2 separate regions of the Homo sapiens genome follow, and region 2 is linked to region 1. The links are contacts of gene promoters, found by promoter capture Hi-C in blood cells and fetal thymus (Javierre and others, 2016). All regions are on one chromosome and are shown on one strand. Each heading gives the region's core, a stretch centred on a gene start or on the middle of the fragment in contact. The rest is flanking DNA. Distances are from core to core; before and after follow the strand shown. Region 1 holds the start of SORCS3 (sortilin related VPS10 domain containing receptor 3). Region 2 overlaps SORCS3 (sortilin related VPS10 domain containing receptor 3).

The links. The method cuts DNA at HindIII sites, captures the fragments that hold promoters and counts their contacts. A CHiCAGO score of 5 or more calls a contact.
Region 2: a fragment that was not itself captured here is called in contact with the fragment with the promoter of SORCS3 in region 1 in 1 of 17 cell types (M2 macrophages); the score reaches 5.7 in M2 macrophages.

The regions. Positions count from the first base shown.
Region 1 is chr10:104,636,384-104,643,069 of GRCh38, reverse strand. SORCS3 (sortilin related VPS10 domain containing receptor 3) reads right to left here and starts at 1,780. Exons shown (of 27, transcript NM_014978.3): 1 at 1,116-1,780. The coding sequence starts at 1,742. The HindIII fragment of the contact is 3,039 bases long and covers 1,373-4,411 here.
Region 2 is chr10:104,919,432-104,925,897 of GRCh38, reverse strand. The region is part of intron 3 of SORCS3 (sortilin related VPS10 domain containing receptor 3); the gene reads right to left. Among named protein-coding and RNA genes, the nearest start is that of SORCS3-AS1, 260 kb to the right of the region's middle. The HindIII fragment of the contact is 8,773 bases long and covers 1-6,466 here.

The sequences.
Region 1 (6,686 bases), core at 531-3,030:
GGCTCTAGTAGGGACCGCGGGAGGGAGGGAAGTCGGGGAGATGGTGGGAACCTGTCCCCCGCCTTTTCTTTGCTTGGCTGCACAGCGCTGGGTGCCGGCGAGGTAGGGGGAGCCCCTCCGGGCACGCGCTGCGGGCCGCTGCAGCTGCCAGGCAGGCGCGATGCTCAGTCGGGCGCCCAGTTCGGAATGCCGGAGTAGGCCAGACCGGGCTCAACGACGCCACCTCTCGGTACATCCTTGTCCAGGAGAACCCGGTGGCGGGGAAAAGCGGGTGGAGAGGTGTGCAGGAAGCTCAGGCACCCAACTCCGCTCAGGGAGCCGTTTGTGGCGCAGGACGCAATGGTGAAGTCGAGAGTTTTCTGCTGAGCGACTTCCGTGTGCCTGTGCGTGCGTGAGGGCGAGCGGTGTGGCATGAGCGCTGGATGGGTGTGGAATTTCGCTTCACGCTTTAAACTTTTTTTTACGGCCTCTGCTACGGCTTTCCAGGGCCGCTCCCTGGACTTTGAAGGAGGAACCGGGGTTACCTGAAGGCCAAGGCTGGGGGCCGACTTGGCCGAGCCTCCCTCTTGGGCTGGAGGACTGCGCGCCTGGAGCGGATAGCAGCGACCCCGAGGCGAGCAGGAGGCTGGGAGTCCGAATGGCCTTCCGGGTTCCCTTTCGCGTGACGGGAGGGGGGGTGGGGGTGGGGTGGGGGTAGGGGGAGCCCGGCAGCCGCAGGAATCGGTCTGTTCAGCGGCTCCCGCCCCAAGTCAGCCCTTTTTCTCATCCAAGAATTCAAGCACCCCGCAAACAGGAAAACTGACCCTCCAAGCCAAGTATTGGAGAAAGTGAGCACAGATCCCTCCCCCACTCATCTTTAAGAAGCCCCTTCCTCCACTCCCCTCCCGGCGGCCGAAGCCTAGGGTCTCCAGTAAACAAACACACACAGCGTCTAACAACAAACTCCGTTAACCTGTTGGGGGCGTGGGGGGAATCGGACAAACCTGTTATCTCGAAAAGTCGAGGCGTCCCCCGCCTCGACCCCCGAGCAACTATCTGTCCCTCGCTCCCACCCACCCCCCCATTCCCCTTCGGTGTCAGGAAACAGGCGGACCCGCCGCCGGGTGGGTACTCACGCTGCTGTTGTGTCCCGACCAGTGCACCATGGCTTGGTTGTGGGCCGAGTCCCCGGTCAGCGCGAAGGAGGTGCTGGGCAGCCGGAGGTCTTCAGCCGCCGACCCCCCAGCCCGCGGCGCCTTCACCTCCTCCCGGGAACCCTTAGCAAGGGGACGGCTTCCTCTGGAACCATCGGCCGGAGCAGTGGCCCAGGCGTCCCCGCGTTCCTGGGTGATTGGGGGCTGCGCCCGGCGACTCCTCCTCGCGCCGCCAAGCTTGGCAGGAGCTGGGATGCCCCGGCCCCGCCGCTCGCCTGCCGGTGATGTCCCTCCGGCTTCCACCTGCATCTCACCGCCTCTGCCGCCGCCCTGCTGGGGCAGCAGCTCTGGTCCGGCCCGGCGCCCCAGCACGGCGGCTCTCCGCGCCGACGCCAGCTCCTCCGGCCACTGGCTGGCCACTGCCCGCGGCGAGAGTGGAGACAACGCCGGTGGCCGCGAAGCCGGGGCCGCCGGGCGTCCGGGACCGCCTGTCGCGTCCCAAGTGATCTCGGCGCCGGCCAGGACCCACGTCGACAAGAGTAGGAGCCCCGTCCGGACAAGCGGCGCCCCCGGCCTGCCTGCGGGGCGCTCCGTGCGCGCCGCCTCCATCCCGCTGCGGCTACCGCGGCTCGGGCTGCCGAGTGTGTGGCGCCCGCCGAGGTGCGGGTCCGGCGCGGGGGGTGTGCGCGCGCCGGCGAGCGAGCGAGCGTGTGTGTGTAGGGGGAGTGGGGAGGGGGCGGCCGGGAAGGAGGTGGCTCCGGCTGGCGCGCCTCGCCGGTCCTCTCCACTCTTCCCTCCTAGCTCCCGCTCGCCCGTTCTCTTGTCCAGAGGGTGATTCCAAACCCGAGGAAAATTAATAATTGCCCCTTCGGTGCTTTCTTTCTTAAAATCAGATTCCCCCCAATCCTCCCCACTGAGCTCCTCCAGAAATTTGGTAAAAAGGAGTAATCAAAGGTAATAAGAAAATCTTCTTAAAATATGAAAATCAAGCCGGATCCAGGAGGGGCCGGCAATAGACCCCAATCCCGAGTCTCTCCGAAATCCAGCCTCCAACGTGCTCCCGGCGAAGAGTTGGGAGCCGCTTCTGGACGCGTTTGGGGGTTTACTCTTCGGGCCTGTTATGAGGGGCGGGAGATGGCGCGCGGGGAGGGTACAGGGGTCTCGGGGGAGAAGGAGGAGGAGTTGTGTGCTCAACGCCAACTGTTCGCGTTCTAGAGCCGAGAGGGAGCCAGGTGCCTCCGCGCGGGGAGGCTGCGCACGGAAGCCAAGCGCGGGATGCACCCTGGACTCTGCTCGCCGCTCCCTGGCCCGGCCGGCTCCCGGCCAAACCCCGCCACCCAAGGCCTGCGCCCCCGCGCGGGGGCGTGGGGAATGCGTGCGTGCGCGTGCGTGCGCGCAGGCAGGCGGGCGTGAGGCGAGGGGTTCGCAGGGGGCCGGCGGGCAGACCGGGCGCTGCCGCGTGGGGGCACCTGGCTGAGCCGGGCCGGGAGCGCGGCTGGGTGTGAGGGGGCGCGCGGTTCCGTGCGTGCGCGTTTGCACGAGCATGTGTGCACGTTAGTGTGAGCGATGGCAAGTGGGGCGGGGGCGGGAGGTGTGCGCTCGGCTTTTGGTCGCGTGCGGATCACGCACGGGCTGTGTTTGCATTTCCAGGAGCCTGCGAGTGGTCAAAGAGGCAATGCTGAGAACTAGGCAGGCCGCTCTCGGCAGCCCCCTCCTCTTGGCGCCCCGAGCACCCACGGCCCCCACTACAAGCGGTTAGAACCTGATAAAGCCTCCTAGGGGATGAGGGAAAAGAGGCGGAAGGCCCCGGTGGGATCGGGGACTTGCCAGATCTTCTCGGTTGAGGGATTCTCCTTGCCCCGACCTCCCGGCCAGAGGTGGGGCGAGAGAGTAGTCGAGATGTCTGTTCTTCCAGGGAGGATCCAGACCTCATTTTGCTGCCTAGGATTTTGAGGTCGTGCCCTCACTCTCCCCAGTCCGTTTCTGAACGGACTCAATTGTTTCAAAGTGTCGGCCGCCAGTTAAGAGGGTACTCAGGCGGGAGCCGCGTGGGCTTATCTGGTCCCCAATCCGCTACTGCAGGAGTGTAGCCTGCGCGCTTGGTGCAGCTGAGATCCTTCGTGACCGTAGGAAGAAGGAGACTTCAGGTGGGCTGAAGGGAAATGAGCTAAACCCACAGACGACCTCGAGCTGCGGTTTACAGGCCCCAGGACATGTGGTGTAGCTCGCCGCCTCCGAGAAGCCCCTGGGATTCTAGGGGTTGAAAAGTCTGAGACTAGAGGAGCTAGAGGAGGAGCTATTAAGAAAGGAGGAGGCAGGAGGGAGGAGGCTTAGGGAGAGAGAGACAGCCTCCAGCCCTGCTCCTCCCCTTCGGGAGTAGATAGAGTTCCTCCTCTCTAGAAGATGGTTAAAGTGGAGCGAGAGGGAGGGGAATGCGCGGAGAGGAAAGAAAGGTGAGAGGAAGGAATGAAGGAGAAAATAGAGGGAAAAGGGGAGAGAGGAAAGACAAGATGAAGGAGAAAAGGGGCGAGAGAATGGTGCAAAAGGAAGAGGGAGATAGAAGAGGAGGCGAAAGGGCGCCAGGTAAGAGCCAAGAGGGATGGAGGAGGCAGAAGAGGCGACTGAGAATCTAAGCTGGCCAAGGAAGAAGACATCCAGCGATTCCCGAGAGCCCCCGCCCTCTTGAACTTGCCTTTCCACCCGGTGCCAAAATGGCAATTAGCAGCGGGGGAGGCTGGGCCAAAGAACCAAGCCAGCGACAACGTCCGGCCCAGAATGGTGCGGGTCCTGGCATCTGTGGGTTTCCAAAGACAGGGAGTAGCGGGTATTCCTAAGAAAAGTTCCAGCGCCGCAGGCCCAGGTGGGCGCGGGATCGGGCGCTGGACGAGAGCCGGCCATCCGCGAGTTCCCAGCGCCCCTGCCGGAGGAGGCCCGGCGCTGCAGCCCGAGCCGAAGCTCGGGGTTCGGGAGGGACGCGGTGCTGCTCTTCTCTTCAGGCTCTGGGCGGAGGTGCCACAGTATAAGAGATCTGGGCGGACCCGAGGCTCACACAGCCCGGAGGAGTGTGGTCTCCCAAGTCCTATGCGCACTGGGGAGGTGCACCATCCAGTCCCCGCAGCTTCCCGCGGCCTCTGAGCAGGAGCAGTCGGGTGCAAAAGAGGCAGACGCTCTGAGAGGGGCCTCCTTCTGTCTCTCCTGTCTGAAGAAGGCCCTACCAGATGGAACCCGGGCAGAGTTGGATCCTTGGGATGGGCTTGAGGAGATGTAGCTTAAAAGCTTTTGTTTGAAAACAAACAAAAAAGGAAAGACTCCCGCAAGTGTGACATTTTCACATGCCTCCTGCACCAGTTCGTTTTCTTGGCCTTGCTCCCATCAATTACAGTCTTCTTCCACCTGCAGCCTCTCCCTCCTTCACCCTTTGCCTGAAAATCCTTGCCCTCAGCCCTGAGCTGCCCCTGCCCCCACCCCCAGCCCCCTGCCTCCAACCCCCTGCTTCCGAGTCCCCATTAGCCTTCTCTAGTGCCCAAACTTCTCCCAGTAGTTCTCACCTGAACCCACAGTATCCTCTTCCTCACTCCTGGACTTTTTGCAATTTGACATCTGCTTTTAGGCGACTCAGTCAAAGGCCTACCCCAACACGCCTGACAGCCTCACTCAACAACCTCTTCTTCCCGCATGTGTAAACTTGTCCCATCTGAAAAGGTCTCCTTTGATCTACATGGTACTAGGATCTTCTGGGTCCTCCCTGGCCAGCCTCAGTCAAGCTTGTCCTCTTTTATCCACATCTTAAATTCTGAGCCCCAGCCTCCATCATTTTCCCCAATTCTCCGTGCTTGGCTCTCATTCTGTTTTCCCTTTCTCCTTGTCTGAATGAGCCCGGAGATCAGGCCCATTTCTGTCCTTCTACTACCATTTCCTGGTGTTGACTCCTGGATCTACAACTTCACCACATCCCCTCTTGAGCTTCACACCTGACTTCCTCATTGCTTCATACGTGTTATGTGTTCACCTTGAAACCCATATGCAGCAAAACCTAAAACCATCACCCCAACATCTTCTTAGTCACCTAGACTAGACACTTGACTTGCAAGCTTGACTCCCTCTTTTGGATCCCCACACCCATAACTTGTCTCGTCCTATTTTAAAAAGCCTTTTTTTTTTTTTTTACCACTCCTCTCCTGTTCATTCCTAGAGTCACTGCCTTATATCTGACCCTCAACATCTCTTGCCTAAGGTTTTGCAATAGTTTCCTCTCTTCTCCTGGTCTTCGGTTCTTTCCTTCTCCTAGCCAGCCTCCACACTGGCACCTTCAAATAGAAATGTAATGTAAGCCACACAGGAAATTTTAAACTTTCTAGTAGCTTTATTGAAATAAAAAGGAACCAATGAAATTAACTTTAATTTTTATTGAACTGAAGATACCAAAAATAGTTTCAATTTGTAATCAACATAAAAATTATTGATGTATTTTTACATATTTTTGTACCAAGTCTTCAAAATCCAGTGTGTATTTTATACTTACAGCACATTTCCGTTCAGACCACCCACATTTTTTCACTACCACATTTCATAACCACATGTGACTAGTGGCTACTGTTTTAAACAACACAGCTCCACACTGTTGACAGAAATAGCCTCTTAAAACATAAGGAAGATTATATCATGAATTGCCCTCCTCAAAATTTTTCAATGACCTACCATTTTTATAAAATCCAAACTTCTTAGAATGGTATCCAAAGCTCCATGTACTTGCCCCACCTCCATGAACTTTCTTACTGTATTCCTTAAGCCTGGAATGTGTCCTCTGCCACAGTATTCAACATGGAAGGGGCTTCATGGTAAGAACCCTTCTTCATGGAAGAATCCTCTTCCATGGAGCTTGCCTCCACAGCCTCATAGTACTTGTTATTATATCATTATTATTACCATCATCATGTCATCATCATCAAATTCTTTGTCTTCCTATAAGATAGGAGCTGTCCCATATCAATTTGGAATTTAAAAGAAAGGACAAAGGTTAAAGGGGGCTTCCATTTCCCTTGCTGACATAATACCTACTTCAGCTGGGAAAGGCAGGTTGAGAGTGAGGATTAGCTCTCACACAGTCCCCATAGGGTCGGCAACAAATGCCCACTGGGAATGCATTTTCTCACCAGGGCTTCTGTCCCTGTTAAAAACAACTGGAGAAAGCAAACTGTATACTGTAAGTTATCCATGAGATTACACTAAATGTCACCCAAATAAGTCTTCTTTCCGGTTTTTTGTTTTGTTTTGTTTTTTGTTTCTTGTTTTTTACCATCACAGTGAAATAACACTTTGGGAAACTGTGCTTCTTCTCCCTGACATCACAAATACACACAGACACATACACACACACACACACACACACACACACACACACACCCTTACCCTTCCAGACCCTCAATAATCTAATAGATATTTTGCCATCAGCACTCACAGCAGGCACAGATAGGGAAGCATTCAAATGATGCCGATTTCTTTTCTTTTTCTTTTTTTTTTTTTTTTTTTTTTGAGATGGAGTCTTGCTCTGTC
Region 2 (6,466 bases), core at 1,785-4,284, 280 kb before region 1:
CTTATTTGATTAAACAAAAATAAAATAAGCTGCATAGGAGCAATTTGAAAGTCCAAAGAGACACCAACTTTGTTTTAAGGCTGTAGTAACTGATACAGCATCTCCTTGCTACCTTCTCCAGCCTCCTCTGTGGACCACAGCAATTCATTCAGAAGCCTGTTAGCTAACATGTCAGTTTTGGGACACTTTACCATTGGTTCTTCACCTGCTCATTGTCTGCCATACCTGCAGCCTTCAATAATAACATTCAAGATTTAAAAATGAAAAACAAAAGAGGAAAAAGAAACCCAAAAGCCTCAAACAAACAAAAACCTGCTTTTTCCTAAAGGTTTGGGGGAAAATATTCATTTCCCCACTCATCTGCTGAATTGATGGGATTCACACTATCAGGGCAATGCCCATTGAAAAGGGGCAAAAAGCAGTCAGCGCCTCAGATGGGCTTGGAGCATGGTTTCTGCCACCAGGGGGAGTTATTCTGGTAGTGCATATTCCTTATATCATGTTTGCCTTGGACAAAAAAATTAAGTGGTTTAACCTGGTCATTCTAACATAAGGCAACATGCCTATGTTAATTCCCCTAATTCGGCATTTACTTTTCTTAAAAAAGAGAAAAAGACAACCGAGTCATGTGTTCTACAGTTAAAAATTAAAGCATTTTGAGTTCATTTTCTTTGCAAGGACATGGATGAAGCTGGAAACCATCATTCTCAGCAAACTAACACAGGAACAGAAAATCAAACATCGCATGTTCTCACTCATAGTGGGAGTTAAATAATGAGAACACATGAACACAGGGAGGGGAACATCACACACTGGGGCCTGTCAGGGGAAAGGGGAGGGAGAGCATTAGGAAGAATATCTAATGCAGCCAGGGCTTAAAACCTAGATGACGGGTTGATAGGTACAGCAAATCACCATGGCACATGTATACCTATGTAACAAACCTGCACGTTCTGCACATGTATCCCAGAACTTAAAGTAAATTTTTTTAAAAAAATTAAAGCATTTTGCTGGCCAGGCATGGGAGCTAGTGGACAGTATTAAGAACAATTCATAAAAAAATGCTAACAACCCTCCCATACAATATATCTAACATGCTAGTTATGCTTCTGAAAGAAGGGGACAGGTAAGTGATCTTTTATCCCCATTTTACAAATTGAGAAGGTGAGGATCAGAGAATTTAAATGACTTCTCAGTGCCATACAGGTAGTTAACAGAAAGGCTTAAAACAGAAATCCTGATTCTTTTCCCAGATAGCCCACCTCCCAGGGACCCAGCCTCTTGCTCCTTTATCAAGCCATTTGGCCTTTGTCATGCTGCTCAACCATTCTGGGCAGTTTTGAATGCAAGTCCTTGGTTTCCCACCCAGGTTCATTTGAAATGAGATTCCAGCTGCAATACCCTTTGGGCTTTGAGAGTGGAGTACTGAGAGGCTGTGGATATCTCTGTAAGCCGTAGAGACACAACTGACATTCAGCAGGACCGACGTGGAATGCTATTTTCCTACCACTTCATATTTGTGCTCACCTTATTCTCAGTCAAGGTTCTCTATCAGATCAGAATTCTCCAGCTGTCACCAGCCTTATGGGCTTGGCAGAGAATACTAGACTAGGAGTCTGTAAACTGCTCCCGCCCCAGCTCTGAGGCAAGTGACTCTATGACCTCAGACAAGTCCCTGAGTGGCCTCTTCTGTTCAATGAGGGTCTGCACAGTCTCCGAGAGCCCTTTAAGCTCCAATATGCAGTGAGTCTAAGAATTAAATATGAATGGAAACGAGTTAAATGAGCATATTAGACCAAGGCACATGACCATCAGCAACAAATCTGAGCAAATGGCTAACATCTCAGTACCAAATATCCATCATCTGCAAATTGCATGATGATCGTGCCAACATCATAGAGTTTCTGTTGAAGTATTAAATGAGTTAATTCATTGGAAGCATTTAGGATAATTTTCAGCACATAGCAAACTCTCAAAAAACTCTAGCTCCTTCTTGTATTATTATTTTTACTATCATTGTCATTATTATCATAGACACTTGTTGCCTTTATGAATAGAAACAGATACTAGCACTAACAGAGACTTCTTTGCTCCTTAACAGACAGGTTATTATGCACATGTTACGAAGAGAAAAAGAAAGGCTCACAGAGGAGAGATGTCTGGTTGATGTGTCATTAAGTCAATGGCCATGAAGGAGGGAGTGTGGTACAGCAGAGCTAAGCTCCCACTCCCTATTGCAACACTTGGTGTCCTCTATTCTGGGTTACCAGAACAGGCAGCATCTCTAACTCCCTTGCCTGCAGGAGGAGGGCTAAGCGTCCCTGGGTAATGCGTGTGATGCTCCTATGAAGTTGCATTGGCTCATGCTGATAGAACCCCTTAATTGTGCCAGCAAGTAGTGCTGCTGCTCTGACTTCTACCAGCAGAGCCAGTGTGTTTCAGGGACCCACCTTTTGACCAAGGAACTGTAACTTCAGAAAAGATAGCCCAGGTAACAGGGCTTGGCCAGCCAACATGTAGTCATATAACTAAGAGCTATGAGGATTACACTTCCTAAGGGCTTGGCCAGCCAACATGTAGTCATATAACTAAGAGCTATGAGGATTACACTTCCTAAGGACTTCCCAACTGGCTATCCAATGAGCCACAGAAATTAAATGTGGATCATCACATGGTACTGCAAAGCCCTCTGAAAAACACTGTCTAAATGGTGGCCATCCAGACGACCTGAGCTGGAAGGGGCTTCGAAAAGCATAGAACATAAACTTGCCATTATACAAATAGAGAAATGAAAGCCCTGGGAGGGAAGTGGCCTATATAAAGACACTGAGTTGCTCAGGGGCAAAACCAGAAGCAGAAAGCAGACATCTGCCCCCTACCCCTACTCTAGTGGTCTTACCCTACAATGACACAAAAAGTCCCTTTGCACTGAAGGATCAACCATGTGCTTCCTCTGAGTCAAAGGGAAATCTTTGTAAGCCACACTTGACTTAGTTTATCTCTCACACATATAAGGGTATCAGTGCAGGTCCCCAGCAAGAGAGTCTACGAAGTGTTCTCCTGTGACTCTAAAGACCACTTTGCAAATACCAACTTTTCACCTGTAGACTTAGTTACCACTTGAATATGCCACATGCTGCCAACTGGAAACAGGGATAACAGTAGATTTGGTACAGCCTGTTAGCCCCCAAACCCTGAACTCCACCTCCTAAATATTTCAAAACACGGATGTTTCATATTAAAATCTATATAGAAAAATATCTTTAAAACTCAGAACATAATAGCAAGGATGTTAACAATAACTGGCTATGCTGGGCCCTCATTTTCACATGACAACAGTCATTTGGAGCCTAATGGCAAAAGGCCCTTTACAGAGGGGCTTCCAAGTCTCTACCTGGCCCACATCTTCCTTGCCATTATCTTCTGGCCCCTGCATGCATCCGAATTTGAGACCTAGGTCTATGTAGCAGTCATTTTCTTCGGTGCATCTTGTCTGCCCAGGTGAATTGCACATTTCTGAAAGCAGGAAACTCCCTCCCTCAAAACATACTTTGCTCAGAGGTAGACATTTTTAAAAGATTGTTCAACAGCCTAAAATTACCTTTCCACCTTTTTGGCCTTACTTTAGTGTAAGAGACTTTAATATTTGTGGACTGAAAATGTGTTACCCTGCCACTTACTTTCCCTGACCCTGCAACTATCTTAGGAGTCTGGTATTTTAAAATTCTGTGCTATGTTTTGGTTAAAGGTTTTCCAGCATTTTAAAGATAGTTCAGGGTTATGTGTTGTATCCAGAGAGCGACATTGGCATAACCAGCCTCCGACCACACACGCGGTGCCTCTCGAACAGCTTGACAAAAGCAGCTTGCTCACTGTAAGAATCTCACTGGTAATTCCCACTATATTTCTGCAGGGTAGCCTGAAAGTAATTATCCTTCTCACTGGTAAATCAATTAGGAATGCAGGATGTAATATTCCCCTCCTCCTCCAAGAAACTGCTAATCCTCTAACACTAATGAACAGAAAACCCCAGGCAACAGGGTTACCACTAATAGAGTGATGATTACAACTCACCTGGTCTTTATACCTGTGGTAGTGGCACCAACCCTGTGGGCAGATAGAGGTGAACAGGAATCCTGGACCCCCTCTTATTAGCTATTTTCCAAAATTAAGTGTCTATCTGCTTGAGCCTCAGTTTCTTCGTCTGTCAAATGAGGATAAAACTACCACGCTCAGGAGATTAATAGTAAAACTTAGAATAAAGTGTAGTAAGGAACTTAGCCCAGTGCCTAGAACTTATTAGAAGCTCAATAGAAAGAACTCATTAGCCTATACTGATGTCAGACCTTATAGTTTTCATCACACACACACACACACACACACACACACACACAGAGAGAGAGAGAGAGAGACATGTACCTCTAACTATAGTAATTTGGTCACATTCTCTGGCTGTTAGACCAGTGTGTGCTCTCTGCCATTTCCAATGCACTGTCTCCAAAGTTGCAGGTGGCAGTCACTTTGGAGCCAGAGTAATTAGACAATAACATGCCTGCATTTCTCTGTCCACTCAAAGATTCATTCTCAAATAAGCTCGCCCATGGGAGTCAGGCTCCTCTCTAGTTAAGGCACAAAGCCTTCAGCCTGTTTTTACAAAGCACAGCAGACTTGACCTTGGCACTTGCCATTCTGCATGGGCCTGAGGACAAGAAACAACTGACAGTAATGAGTTCTGGGAACCCAGGGATGTTTATCTCATGCAAGGGGAAGGAGAAGCTGTGAGCTAGAGCTTACTAGCCCCACCATAATGGAGCCACTCCTCTGGGAGGCAAACCATACACTCTCTTGCTTCCAGAGCTAATATACTATTCCTCATCTTCAAGTACCAACCAGACACATTCAGCAATTCTGGGCTCCCATAAGGAAGTTGGGCTCAAACCTGGGCAATGAGTTAATTGGCCAATGGCTGGAGAAAGGCAAACAACCGGGTATACAAAATTCACATCAAATAGTCAGAGTGGGTCAAGGTCATTAAAATAATGCTGATGCCACCATGCCACAGAACAGCAGTCTAGGACAACTTTGACTGAAGCAGCTTCGTGCATTTCATATCAATACTCTCATTTAGACAGGGAATTATAAAACCCGCTAGATGAAATGATTATACCCTGCTCACAGCCTGTGATAAAGACAGTACTCCCAGTCTAAATCTCAGCTACCTCCAGGAAGCCCAGAATTGCTGAATGACTAATTTGTCCTCAAAATAAACCCATTGGGAAAGCTGCTGTAGATCTACCATTTATAGCAATATAGTCTTGGGGTAATTTATCAAAGTCTATTTTCTTACCCTGCCTACTTTCAAAGTGGCTGGGAGGATTAGAGATCATGTGGATAAAACTCTTAAAAGGGAGTTTAGGATAGTAGCTGCTCAGTTAGTGCTACCTGGGATGATTACTGGTAGAAGGAAACTATACACAGGTTAACACCTCTGCTTCCTTCCAACTTAATGGTTAATTAACTATCAGTATTTGGATAATTTTATGTTGTTCAAAATTGTTTAAAAAATCAACAATTAGCTTTGGGAGCAACTACATGAATACAAACTCAATTTACTGTTTTGCCAGGGGCAACAGATCTCATTTGATGTATTCATAGCCTCCAAGGAAAGCAGCAGCCATCTGTTAAATAAATAACTCATTAGGTGAAAAGCAAGTGCTTCTACAAGATGAACTCAAAAATCCACGAGAGACTACTGCCATTGGCTGACTGATGAAATGGGTTGCTACAGATAATTTGGGTACTAACCAAATCTAAACCATCTTGCCTAACACAAGCTGAGATGAGTATCCATATTACCATAAGTTTAAACTTGAAGACGTAAAGAAGGAAACTTAAAAACGAAGTTGTGTTACATGGTTCCAGAGCTCTAGACTAATAAAGGAACAAATAAGAGTATTTTTATTTATATCAAATTTTCTTTTTGCCTAAGTGGCTGGAGAAGGGGGATTTCTGCTAAGCTGAATATACTGGTTACGAGAAAGTTAGAATGTAGACTACGTGTGCACTGTCAACATCAAGAGGCTCAGATTACAATACATACCACTTAGTAAAATGAAAATGAATCCAATTTCATTTTTTCTTGGATGATGAGGAAAGCACTTTAGATCATGTAGGACCCTTATGAACATTAATTTCTTTTTTTTTTCTTCAGACGGAGTTTCACTCTTGTTGCCCAGGCTGGAGTGCAATGGTGTGACCTCTGCTCACCGCAACCTCCACCTCCTGGGTTCAAGCGATTCTCCTGCCTCAGCCTCCTGAGTAGCTGGGATTACGGCATGTACCACCACGCCTGGCTAATTTTGTATTTTTAGCAGAGACAGGGTTTCTCCATGTTGGTCAGGCTGGTCTCGAACTCCCGACCTCAGGTGATCTGCCCACCTCAGTCTCCCAAAGTGCTGGGATTACA